4 separate regions of the Homo sapiens genome follow, and regions 1, 3 and 4 are each linked to region 2. Evidence: promoter capture Hi-C in human tissues and cell types (Jung and others, 2019). All regions are on one chromosome and are shown on one strand. Each heading gives the region's core, a stretch centred on a gene start or on the middle of the fragment in contact. The rest is flanking DNA. Distances are from core to core; before and after follow the strand shown. Region 1 holds the start of TMCO2 (transmembrane and coiled-coil domains 2). Region 2 has its middle 7.1 kb from the start of NFYC. Region 3 holds the start of COL9A2 (collagen type IX alpha 2 chain). Region 4 holds the start of SLFNL1 (schlafen like 1).

The links. Contacts are between HindIII fragments. The study calls those that stand out against the background at their distance.
Region 1: the fragment with the promoter of TMCO2 here is called in contact with a fragment that was not itself captured in region 2 in 1 of the 25 tissues and cell types used here (hippocampus).
Region 3: the fragment with the promoter of COL9A2 here is called in contact with a fragment that was not itself captured in region 2 in 1 of the 25 tissues and cell types used here (small bowel).
Region 4: a contact is called between the fragment with the promoter of SLFNL1 here and a fragment that was not itself captured in region 2, in 4 of the 25 tissues and cell types used here (adrenal gland, bladder, dorsolateral prefrontal cortex and 1 more).

The regions. Positions count from the first base shown.
Region 1 is chr1:40,246,517-40,249,581 of GRCh38, reverse strand. TMCO2 (transmembrane and coiled-coil domains 2) reads right to left here and starts at 1,645. Exons shown (of 2, transcript NM_001008740.4): 1 at 1,352-1,645. The coding sequence starts at 1,588. The HindIII fragment of the contact is 6,512 bases long and covers 1-3,065 here.
Region 2 is chr1:40,683,048-40,686,139 of GRCh38, reverse strand. It overlaps a transcript of RIMS3 not described here. Among named protein-coding and RNA genes, the nearest start is that of NFYC, 7.1 kb to the left of the region's middle. The HindIII fragment of the contact is 8,762 bases long and covers 1-3,092 here.
Region 3 is chr1:40,316,030-40,318,845 of GRCh38, reverse strand. It overlaps COL9A2 (collagen type IX alpha 2 chain), which reads left to right and starts at 1,560. Exons shown (of 32, transcript NM_001852.4): 1 at 1,560-1,723. The coding sequence starts at 1,649. RefSeq lists enhancers at 1,429-2,065, 2,066-2,702 and a silencer at 1,876-2,385. The HindIII fragment of the contact is 32,999 bases long and covers 1-2,816 here.
Region 4 is chr1:41,020,387-41,023,231 of GRCh38, reverse strand. It overlaps SLFNL1 (schlafen like 1), which reads left to right and starts at 1,507. Exons shown (of 6, transcript NM_144990.4): 1 at 1,507-1,609; 2 at 2,362-2,368; 3 at 2,454-2,845. The coding sequence starts at 2,572. All of the region lies in intron 1 of SLFNL1-AS1 (SLFNL1 antisense RNA 1), which reads right to left. The HindIII fragment of the contact is 20,466 bases long and covers 1-2,845 here.

The DNA of each region.
Region 1 (3,065 bases), core at 396-2,895, 440 kb after region 2:
TTTTTTTGAGACACAGTCTTTGTCGCCCAGGCTGGAGTGCAGTGGCACGATCTTGGCTCACTGCAACCTCCACCTCCCGGGTTCAAGCAATTCTTCTGCCTCAGCCTCCTGAGTAGCTGGGACTACAGGCGCGTGCCACCACCACACCCGGCTAATTTTTGTATTTTAAGTAGAGATGGGGTTTCACTGTAGCACCACTTATTGAATATATGTGCTAAGATTTACACATACAATATCTTCTTTAATCCTCACAATACACATATATATGCGCATGCGCGTACACACACACACACACACACACACACACACACACACACACACACACATTCCTGTTCAAGATTTAGGTCAGTTGGTTTGCATTAAATGAGATTTTGGAGAAGAACTGAATTTCAAATCCTAAAAATTCGATTCAAACTCCAATTTTGCCAGCTCTTACAAACTATGTGAACTTGGGTGGGTAGCAATCAAGTTCTCTCATCTACAAAATGGAGCAAATAATCTCTCCCTGACTGTTATGCAGGATTGTGATGGTTTAAAATAGAAAGGCCCCGTGACCATGATTACTAAACAATAGTGACATATGAAAATAAGTGAATGCTAAAAAATGATCCAATAACAACTTCTCTCTGCATTTATCAAGTAAACTTGTCACTCTAAGAAAGCCGTTTTAAAAGCCTGTCACCTTAAGTTTCCACTGAACCTCAGTGCACCTCAGTTTCTTCACTTGTCATGTGAAAATAATCTCCATCCATTTCATGGAATTTTTGAGATTCTCAAAGCATTCAACTATATTGTATGTCAACTATTATTATTGGTGACTACACAGAAGTATGTAAAATCCTGTCTCTCACAATCCCAGCCAGTTAAATTCCTACTCCCCAAAGAGCTCCTATATACTTATGGAGCCTTATCTTGTCAAAACACAATAATGAACACATTGTGATGACTTAATACATATGCCTCCTTATCAGTTACAGAACAATGGCATAGTAAGAAAGGCCATACTCATGATCCTAGCTACTTTGGTGCCTATTGTATAAACATAGTAGCACTCAAAGATGAATAAGTGATCAAAAATTTTTGAGGGTAAGGCTGTCTTTTCAGGTTACCAACATGTTTGGTCTATTTTATTACAGAAGACAAGCCAAAGACCATTGTGAGAAAAGCATTTTTATGCCCAAAGCCTAATTGGTGGAGATTTTCAAGGATAACCTAGTTTTTGCCAACTTAAGAGACAAAGGTTCGCCTTTGCACATCTGCATGATCTTAAAACTGGTGGCAGCAATATGGGAGAGAACTAATCAAATTTCAATTTATAACTATATAAATGTTTGTAACAAAAGAGTATAACCTGAATTGACTGAATACTTCGTTTCCATAAGGCATATATTCCTATTCCCAATAAAATCAAGAAAGAAATCCTCAAGATGATTTGCACAGCTGGAGCAAGATTATCTAATAGTCCCAAACTTGTTTGCTGAGGTGCACTAGTCTCTCCCAAAAAACTTGCTTGTATCCAATTCCATACTGTGCTGAGAGAGAGAGACTCTAAGAGGTTGTCCCAGCTAGAAGATGAAGATGTTGACATTTTAATAAGCAGCAGCTCTAGGAACTACATGTGCAGAAGCTTCAGGAATCTAAATATGAGTTAGGGGGAGTAGTCTGGAGGCCTAGGTATTCCAGAGCCATTGTGAGCTGTGCTTTGTGATGTCACTGTTCCAAAGGTCAGCTTGCTTCCCACTCACCCAACCAATGAATCTTACTCAAAACCAACCAGGCACCGGCCTGGGTTTTCAGTTCATTCATATTGCTTTGTCTGATCTTTGGCTAGTTCTGGCTCTAGCATAGTGCTGTCCAGTACAACTTTTTGCAATAATGAAAATGTTCTTTATCTGCCATGTCCAATATGGTAACCACTAGTTACCTGAAATGTGAATAGTGCAGCAGAGATTGCATTTTACATTTTAACTAAATTTGGCTGGGCATGGTGGCTCACGCCTGTAATCCCAGCACTTTGGGAGGCTGAGGCAGGTGGATCACTTGAGCCCAGGAGTTCGAGACCAGCCTGGCCAACATGGTGAAATCTTGTCTCTACTAAAAATACAAAAATTAGCCTGACGTGGTGGTGCACACCTGTAGTCCCAGCTACTTGGGAGGCTGAAGCAGGAGAATCACTTGAACCTGGGAGGCAGAGGTTGCAGTGAGCTGATGTTGTGCTCCAGCCTTGGTGACAGAACGAGACTCCATCTAAAAAAAAAAAAAAAAAAGTTAAATAGCCACCTGTGGCTAGTGGCTTCTCTCTTGGTTAGTGTAGATCTACATTTCCAACAATTCAAATGGACAGCAGCTGTTGCAGCTGTTTTCACATAATAAAAAAAACTGAGTTGTATTGAGGTTGAATGGAAATGTGAGGAGATGGGATTTTTTATTTTTATTTTTTTGAGCTGGCGTGTCACTCTGTCGCCCAGGCTGGAGTGCAGTGGTGCGATCTCAGCTCACTGCAACCTATGCCTCCTAGGTTCAAGCGATTCTCCTGCCTCAGCCTCCTGAGTAGCTGGGATTACAGGCGCCCGCCACCACGCCTGGCTAATTTTTTGTATTTTTAGTAGAGATGGGGTTTCACCATTTTGGCCAGGCTGGTCTAGAATGCCTGACCTCAAGTGATCCACCTGCCCTGGCCTCCCAAAGTGCAGAGATTACAGGCATGAGCCACTGCACCCAGCAAGGAGGTAGGATATAAACAGGGCTTTTTTTTTTTTTTTTTTTTTTTTTTTTTTTTTTTTTTGAGGCGGGGTTTTGGTCTCGCCCTGTCTCCCAGGCTGGAGTGCAGTGGCGCAATCTTGGCTCACTGCAACCTCTGCCTCTGGGGTTCAAGCGATTCTCCTGGCTCAGCCTCCTGAGTAGCTGGGATTACAGGCATGTGCCACCACGCCTGGCTAATTTTTTTATTTTTAGTAGAGACGGGGCTTTACCATGTTGGTTAGGCTGGTCTCGAACTCCTGACCTCGTGATCCACCCGCCTAGGCCTCCCAAAGTGCTGGGATTACAGGCGTGAACCACCACAC
Region 2 (3,092 bases), core at 499-2,998:
TTCGCTCTTGTCACCCAGGCTGGAGTGTAGTGGTGTGATCTCAGCTCACTGCAACCTCTGCCTCCCAGGTTCGAGCTATTCTCCTGCCTTAGCCTCCCAAGTAGCTGGGATTACAGGTGCCCACCACCACACCCAGCTAATTTTTTGTATTTTTAGTAAAGACGGGGTTTCACCATGTTGGCCAAGCTGGTCTTGAACTCCTGACCTCAGGTGATCTGCCCCCCTGCCTCAGCCTCCCGTAGTGCTGAGATTATAGGCGTAAGCCACTGCGTCCAGCCTACTTTTTTTTTTTTTCTTTAAAGGTTGTAGAATTTATCCTTCTTCATCTATGTATTGGCTAGGCTGGGAGGGTGTGTGGCCATGAGAATGTGCTTCTCAGATCTCTGACTGAGGAAATTGTAATTTACCAGCAGTCCAGCTGCTGAGTTCTGAAATCCATCCTGAGCTTTGAAATCCATTGCCCTTTACTCCGAGGTCTTACTTCCCATACGCTGCTCATAGCCAATAACTGAGCCCAACGGGGATTTTAGGACAGGACTGTTCCTGGGATAAGTGATACTCTTCCGATGGGTGACTTTGACTCAAGGACTCCTCAATGGCCTTGCCAAACTTTCCTTAGAACTTCATTGCAGTCTGAGACACTTCCACCTTGAACACCTTCCCTCTGTCCTTCACTCAGGGTCAGGCCTGCGTCACTGTGCGATGGCTCTCTCAGTCTTCCCCTTCCATTTCCTCTCATAATAAATTTTTTTATTTATTATATATTAATATATATTATATTATATAATATATATATAATATAATTATATTATATATTAATAATTATATATATTAATATATATAATATATATATTAATAAATTATGTTTTTCATAATAAATTTATTGCATTTTATTCTGTCTTGGCGTTTGATTTCCTGAGACTCTGAACTAACATGAAGGGAAAGAGGACAGGATGCATCCTACCATAGCACATCTTCTGTACCCCATTAGCCACAGGAGTAGGAACATGACCCAGTCTGACCAATCAGCGATCTCCCACATCTTGGCCCAGTACCTCCTCATAGCCTCTCAGGGTAATTTGGCTCCCAGACAATTAGCCACTTGGTCCACCTCAACAACAGACATAGCTGACCAAATCTAAGCGAGGTCTCACAGTTCTGTTGCTTGAGGCCATCAAGTTACAAACATGGAGTCTATGGCTTCTCCTGCAACTTCCAGACCCTGATGAAACACCACCTCACAGAGCGTGGGATTTGGCTTCCTGAGCAGCTGCTGAAGGAGCCAGTGAAGCAACCTACTACAGAGGATTTAGCTACCCACAGAGCAAACTGATCAATGGGAGACAGGAAGGAGCTGGCTATAACAATCCACTCTTCCCTTCCTTCCTCTAATGAGCTGTTTCAAGATAAAATTTCTCCATACAACCTGTCTAGAGAGACATTCTCCATGGCCAAGTGGGTGCGCCTGTCAAGAGACTAGCTACAGCTCATTGTGAAGTAGCCAGCAAACATTTCCTTCCCTTGCTTCTCATGTTTTCCCACTTTCTCTTATCCTTAATTCTCACTACTCCATGGCTGTGCCCCTCATATAAAGCTTTAGCACTTAATCCCTTCTTCCGGCTTTGTTTTCTAGGAAACCTTGCTAAAACAGATCACAGTTTTTGAAGAGATGGGCACATCACCCAAACTAAGCTAAGAAAAGCCCTTCTAAAGATTTGAAATATATAAGAAAGACAGGATTTTTCTTCTGGAGATCTTGAGCTATGAGGAACTGAGGGCAGCCATTATTCTTGCTTCATGGAAAGAGCCTTTCTAAGAATGAAGACATCACAGAGGAAGGCAGAATTCAGACAGAGAGGGAGACAGAGTCCTGACATCCTTTGAACACCTAGATCCAACTTTCCCCAATATGTGTAACCATTTTGTCATTGCTTTATCATTCTGAAGACCAGTTTTCCCAATCCATGTCATATAAAACATGGTAACCAATTAGTCCCAAGTTGCCTCCATTCAAAAAATCATCCAGGTGACTAGATTCTTAGGCTCAATTTCAAATTTCTGGGAGGAAGAGCTCTTGTTAGAGCTAGCTTTGGCCAAATGTCCACCACTGAATCAAGTATCATTATGGAAAGGGGGACAGGGTCATGCATAAACATGGTTGTATCTACTGTAACTCTATGAATGAAGGTATGCTGGAGGGTAGAGGATAGAGTAACACTTCTCAGAAAAGTAGGAGTAAAGGATTAGGCAGACTAAACAATGTCTGTCCACTTCCTGAGAATAAATAAAGGAAAAGAGGGTAAAGAGGTCAGAGGACAGAACCTTTATCTAACCAACACTATCCAACAGAGCTTTCTGCAGTGGTAGAAATGCTTTATATCTGTGCTGTTCAATACAGTAGCCACTAGCCACGTGTAGCTGTTGAGCATTTGAAAGATGGTTAGTGCAACCAAGAAATTGAATTTTTCATTTTGTTTACATTGAAATAGCTACAGGTAGTATCTTAGTTTTCTGCTGCTATAACAAAATACCAAAGACTGGGTAATTTATAAACAAAGGAAATGTATTTGGGTTGTGGTTCTGGAGGCTGGAAAGCCCAAGAGCATGGCACCAGCATTTGCTCGACATCTGGTGAGGGCCTTCTTGCCACACCATAACGTGGCAGAAGATATCACATGGTGAGGAAGTGTGCATGTGAGAGAGGGAGGGGGGCCAAACGTATCCTTTTATCTGGAGTCCACTCCCTCCATAACTAACCCATTCCCATGCATTAATCCATTTATGAGGGCAGAGCCCTCGTGACCTCATCACCTCTTAAGTGTTCCACTTCTCAACGTTGTTAAAATAGCAATTAAATTTCAACTTGAGTTTTGGAGGGACATTCAAACCATAGCATGTAGCGAATGACTGCATATTAGACAGCATAGGTCTAGACTATTGGTCTACTTTGGGAAGCAGCATGGAATATTGTCTGCAGCATGTGCTTTGAAGTTAGCCTGAGTTCGAGTCCCCATTCCATTTACTTAACCTCTCTGAGCTAGAGAGGTGAAAGATGCAAAGAAAGTTGTATGTAATACCACAAAGAGAGAAAG
Region 3 (2,816 bases), core at 311-2,810, 370 kb after region 2:
CAGAGCCCTTTGCTAACCTGCCCAATGGAGTTGGACTTTTCTAGCTTCAACTAGGTTCATCATTTTAGCTGATCTGCCTGTGGCCAGCTTCCCCACATTGGATGCCAACCTAGTAAAACAGTCATCCATAAATCATAAGGAAAGCTAAAATGTATCAAGCACCTACTATGTGCTGGTTCGAGGTTAAATGCCTCGCATGAGTCATCTCATTCAATTTCCACAAAAACCCTTTAAGATAAGGACAATTTGCTGGGCACGGTGGCTCATGCCTGTAATCCCAACACTTTGGGAGGCTGAGGCAGGCAGATCACCTGAAGTCAGGAGTTCAAGAGCAGTCTGGCCAACATGGCGAAACCCCATCTCTACTAAAAATATAAAAATTAGCCAGGCATTGTGGCTCATGCCTGTAATTCCAGCTACTCGAGAGGCTGAGGCAGGGGAATCATTTGAACCCGCGAGGCGAGGTTGCAGTTAGCTGACATCGTGCCACTGCACTCCAGAGCCTTTTAAGACTCTGTCTTAAAAAAAAAATATATATATATATATATATGGACTATTAGTATCCCCATTTTACAGATGAGGAAAATGAGACTTCATAGAGTTTGGGGTGCCTGTGGTCATATCTATAATTGTGAAAAAGTCAGATTCCAAAGCATTTTACCAATATTGCCTAAGTGAGTGGGAGGGAAGGGAAGGCTCTCTGGAGTCGGGCTATGCTGGACAGCGGGGTTCGGAAACTCTGGTGAATAAAGTGGTAGTTGTTTCTATGAACATGGAGTGAGAAGGCCCAATCCTAAACACACCAGTGCTTAAGGCAGCTGCAGAGAATTAAAGGCAATAGAAAAAGGGGAGCTGGATGGCAGGAGCTTGGATGGGGAAGACTTCAAGGGCAGGTGAAGATGCCAACAGCTTCCTGCCTGGAGGACCGAAGAAGGGTTGGGCTTCACTGCAGACCTCCAGGAGACAGATTTGCTTGTTGGGACAGAGTAGGGAGGTGAAAGCGAGGTGAGGAAGTTCGGGGGTGGGGGAGGTGCACACAGCTCCACTAAAGAGCTGGAAGAGGCCGATGGAGTATTCATGAGACGGCTGATCCAGGAAGGACTGTGGCATATTAATATGGAAAAGGCCTGTTTGTTTGTGCTTGGAGAGGAAGGAGCCAGAGGAGAGGGGAGCAAGGTGGGCGGGAGCTGGGGAGAGCCTGCAGCAAGATCTGCAGAGCCCGAGGTGCTCTCGGCCTGGGCCCTGGAGAGGACGTAGGGTAAGTGATGGGGCACAGGCTGTGCGTCAGGGGGAAGGTGCTGGGGCCTGAAGGTCCCGAGGGGAACCTCAGACGGCCTTATGCCTTCTCACAAAGAAACTGGACCATCATCTCCGACCCGCACCCCGGTCGCCCCTCGAGGACAGAGGGTGGGCGCAGGAGGCTGGACCGAGCGGGGCGGAGCTGGATGCCTGGCGCCGGCCTCCCTCCCGGCAACCCCGCCGGTCCTCTCAGGTGACAGCTCACGCCGGCCCCCGCCCCGCCCCCCGCATATTCAGGAGCCCCAGCCCACCCTGCCCGCGAACAGCCAGCGCTGGAGGAGCGCCGGGAGACTCTGCCGTCGGTGCGTGCGCGGACACGCACCCGTCCCCCTTGGTCTCGCCGCCAGCCATGGCCGCCGCTACGGCCTCCCCCCGCAGCCTCCTTGTTCTCCTCCAGGTGGTAGTGCTCGCTCTGGCGCAGATTGTAAGTTTCGCAGCCCCTCCGCTGCCAGGGTCCAGGGTGCGGGGTCTGGAGTCCGGGATGGAGGAGCTCTGCCTGTGTCCCGCGCCTACTGACACCCCTAGCCCGAGAGGCCACCTGAGGACAGCGCCGCGGGCAGGTCCCCTCGGTGGGTGCATACATGGTGCCCATCGCGGCACCGTGAATGGAGGTGGCTGAGCCGGAGAGTCAAACGGGACCCGTCCCCAGACGCGCGGCCCGGCCCGGGACAGGCAGCGTGGGGCAGGAGCTGGCGCCCGGTCCTGGCAGCCCGGGGAGCCCAGGTGGCGGGGCATACAATGGTGCTCATTCACCCGCTGCGCAGCCTCCGCCCCCGCCGCCTCCCAGGGGGCGCCGGCTCCAACCAGACGCCGCTGTCGCCCCGAGGCGGCCTCTCGGCCCTGCCCGCCTACCCACGTCTCCCTTCCGAGGGCCGCCGGGGGCTGCGGGCGCGCGGGTAGGGCAGAGACTGGGCCCGGTCGGGTGCTGGGTGTGGTTTCGAGCTCGCCTGCGGGGCGCCAGCCTGGCACTTCGCGGCCTGGGGAGGTCGTGGGCACCGGGACCCCTGCCTGGGTCCGAGCTGGCCTCTTAAAAGGGCCGCCTTTTAAGATCTCTGATCTGTTCAGAGATGGGCAGCAGGATGGAGACTCTCCAGCTGTGAGCTCGCCTCATCTTGATATGACTTGTGACCTCCCTGAAACCTCACACCCACCCAGGGGCATTGAATTGCAGGCAAACGGGATCCAGAGAGAGGGTCTGCTTTCTGGGAGGTGCCGGCTCCTCCTGCTCCCCTGCAGCAGTCAGGGCTTAGCAGAGGGAGGACCGGGCAGCTGTGCTGCCGAAGGGGCGCTCCGAGTGGGAAGATAGTACCCGCTTCACCTCCCTACACCTCCTTTCTCTGCGCCTCCCCCACTTTCCCGTCGGGTTTTCCCGCACCATGGGGAGAGGAGGAGGCGCTGTCTCTGCCTGTCGTTCACGTAAGAACAACAACCCGAGCCACCGCTCACTGAGGGCCGGCAGCCTGCTAGGCACAACCTTACATTCCATCTGTGATTTATTTGAGCTGTCCACGTCTCCA
Region 4 (2,845 bases), core at 258-2,757, 340 kb before region 2:
ACCACTCCAAGCTGCCTGCAGAGCACCTATACTTTCTAATACTATTACCTAATACTAGAGAGCCAGAGACACCGTAAATAACCTTGTTATCTTATATTTATGTATTTAAAAGATGGTTCATAAATGTGTTTAGTGCTTACCATGAAAGACAATTTTTACCCCCATCTCCAAAAAGAAGTAGAACTGATTCAGCTCACAGAAGGCTGTTAAAGGCGCCAGAGAAATATGTGATGCAGTGGCTTAAAGAGACTGCCAGGAAGAGTGGGGAAAGTTGCTGCACTCAAGTCAATTTGGGAAATTTCATGCAGAACAGCCACCCAATAGCAAGGCCTCTAGGTAAGTAGGGAGAACGCCTCTGGTCATGTTCAGGTGTTTCGTCTGTCAAGGTGCTTCTCCCGGACAGCTATTTCTGCACAGTTCAACACGACTTGAGTTGGCCATCTCAAAACAGCTATAGCCTCAGTTGCTGTGAGGGCACCTCATGGATGACAGAGGCAAGAAAGGCTTGAGGGAGAGGGGGTGAGGCAGGGGGAGCTTGGAGCCGTCATTCTCTAACCCTAAGAGCTGTGGACACAAAGCCGAGCCCAACCTGGCTGCTGCCCGGGCGGGCAAGGAGAGGGCACCGAATGCACTCTCCCCAGAGCCTCGCACTGCCACCAGTTGAGGCCTGCGCCCCTCTCTTCCCCGCACACCATAGCCTCTTTTCTTGAGTGCTCTACCCAAACTACTGCCTCACCCCCTAGGAAACAAACATTTGGTAACATCTTCAGAAAGGCTGCTTTCAAGGAAGGCAGCTTCTCTACGCTGTCAAACAGCTTTCTTAGTTGAAGCATCTAACTGTGGCACCATCCTTACTGCCCCCAATTGGGGCTTCCAGAAGCAGTGTGGGCAAGCGCTGCCAGCCTTCTGCAGAATGATGAGCACTGGTCAGTCCTGTGCTGATAAAGACTGTGTGTCACCCACGTCTTGGTTTCTCCAACAGCAGGTAACAACCTCATCTTCCCAAAGAGATAGATAGCTACGCCTGACCTATTTTTCAGGGCTCTTCTGGACAGCAGCCTCTGTCTCCAGCACAGAGAAGGGCCTGGCGTCAGGGGGAGCCCTGGAGCCTACCATGTGCCTCCTGCTCCATCTTGGGAGCAGCTGGGCCCTGTCAGTACTCAGTAGAGCCTGGGATTGGTGACTGACTAAAGAGGGAGGTGGAGGCTTTAGGCAGCAGCGCTGAAAGAGGTGGCAAGAGGTGACCTGCATGGGAACTGGGGCCTGAAGAGACATCACTAAGTGGGGAAGTGTGTCCCACAGCCAAGCTGCATGGTGGGTGGGCCGCTGGGTCTGCTTCCAGTGTGTGGTGGGACCCACAGGGAGCTGAGTTTTCCTGTTTGATTTCCCGCACCCAGCCTGCCTGTGGCTGGCCAAGAAGGCATTGTTGAACCTCATGAGATCACAGAGGTAGCTGTGCAGGCCCCGCCCACTTCCTATAACCCTGGTTCTGGCCGTCCCTGTGCCAAGCCTCCAAGTTCCCTGAGAGCTACCGGCCAGGGGTCGGGAGGCTATGGGAGCTCAGGGCAGGCACCTCCCATGCTCCCGCGGGAGCCACCAGGACATGAAGGTCATAGGCCTCTCCTCTCCTCCTCTTCCTGTTTGACCTGAATGCCCCCAGGCCAACTGCCTCAAGGATTCCATTTGAGAAGATGCAGGCTGGGTGTGTGGGGAGCAGTAGAGGGGCTGGTGTGTGCACATATGTGCACAGCTCAGGACAGAGGCTCCCTGGACTTGGGGCGGGGGCACTAGGGCCCCAACTCTAACCCTCGTTCTGCCCTGTTGACCTCTGCTCTCTGGACCAAAAATGGAGGACTCAGTCTAGACTAGTTCTTAGGGTCTAGGAGCCACCTTAAGTTATGTTTATATGCAAAGGCCATTTTTCTGAGAGGCCATAGCTTTCATCAGTGTGCCAAAAAGCGTGAGATCCTCTGCTCTAAAAGCCTCTGCCCCAGCGCTGCCTAGTTTCAGAGCCCCCGATGGCCTCACATGGGGTTTTAGAGCAGGCAGAGAAGCTGCAATGGGGCCACCAGCCAGTCCTCAGAGTCCTGGGTTAAGGCCTCCTCTCCAGGAGGCCCTGTGTAAAGGTTTTCTCTGTTGCCTGGAGGCAGGAGTGAACTGGTAGGCAGGAAACCCTGAGGGTACCTAGGAGGCCCCTAGCCTGTGGGTTGGGGAGGGAAGACAGGACCCCTGGGGCCACTGAAATGGTGGAGCTCTCAGAGACCTGAGTTCTGGTCCCTTCTGCCACTTTTTGGGCAGATCCCGTCTTCCCACAGGCCCTGTGTCTTGCTCAGTCCACGTGACTCTGCTTTCTCATCCTAGGCCTCAGGTGGGTGGCAGGCCCTTTCCTGCTTGCCCTCTGCCCTCCCTCTCTCTGGCCCTGCCCAGTCTCTGCCAATCTGTGTACCTCCCAGGAGCCGGGACACTCCCTGAGTCCTCTGGGAGCCCTTAAGCCACACTGAGAACACAGACCCTGGGAGAAGCAGCCAGCAGTGAGGAATCCTGGAACCCCTTCCCAGGGAGAGCCTTCCCATGACCCCCATGAAGAGATCAGTGCAAACACAGGTGTCAGAGCCCTTCATGGAGTCCTGGGGTGAGGAGTCCCTGCCGGAGCTACCCGCAGAGCAGTCCCTGACGGAGTACTCTGACCTCGAGGAGGCTCCCTCGGCGCACACTCTCTATGTGGGCCATCTGAACCCCCAGTTCTCAGTGCCGGTGCTTGCCTGCCTGCTGCGAGACACCCTGGAGCGGCTGGAGATGCCGGTGGCGCGGGAGCACATTGAAGTGGTGAGGCGGCCGCGGAAGG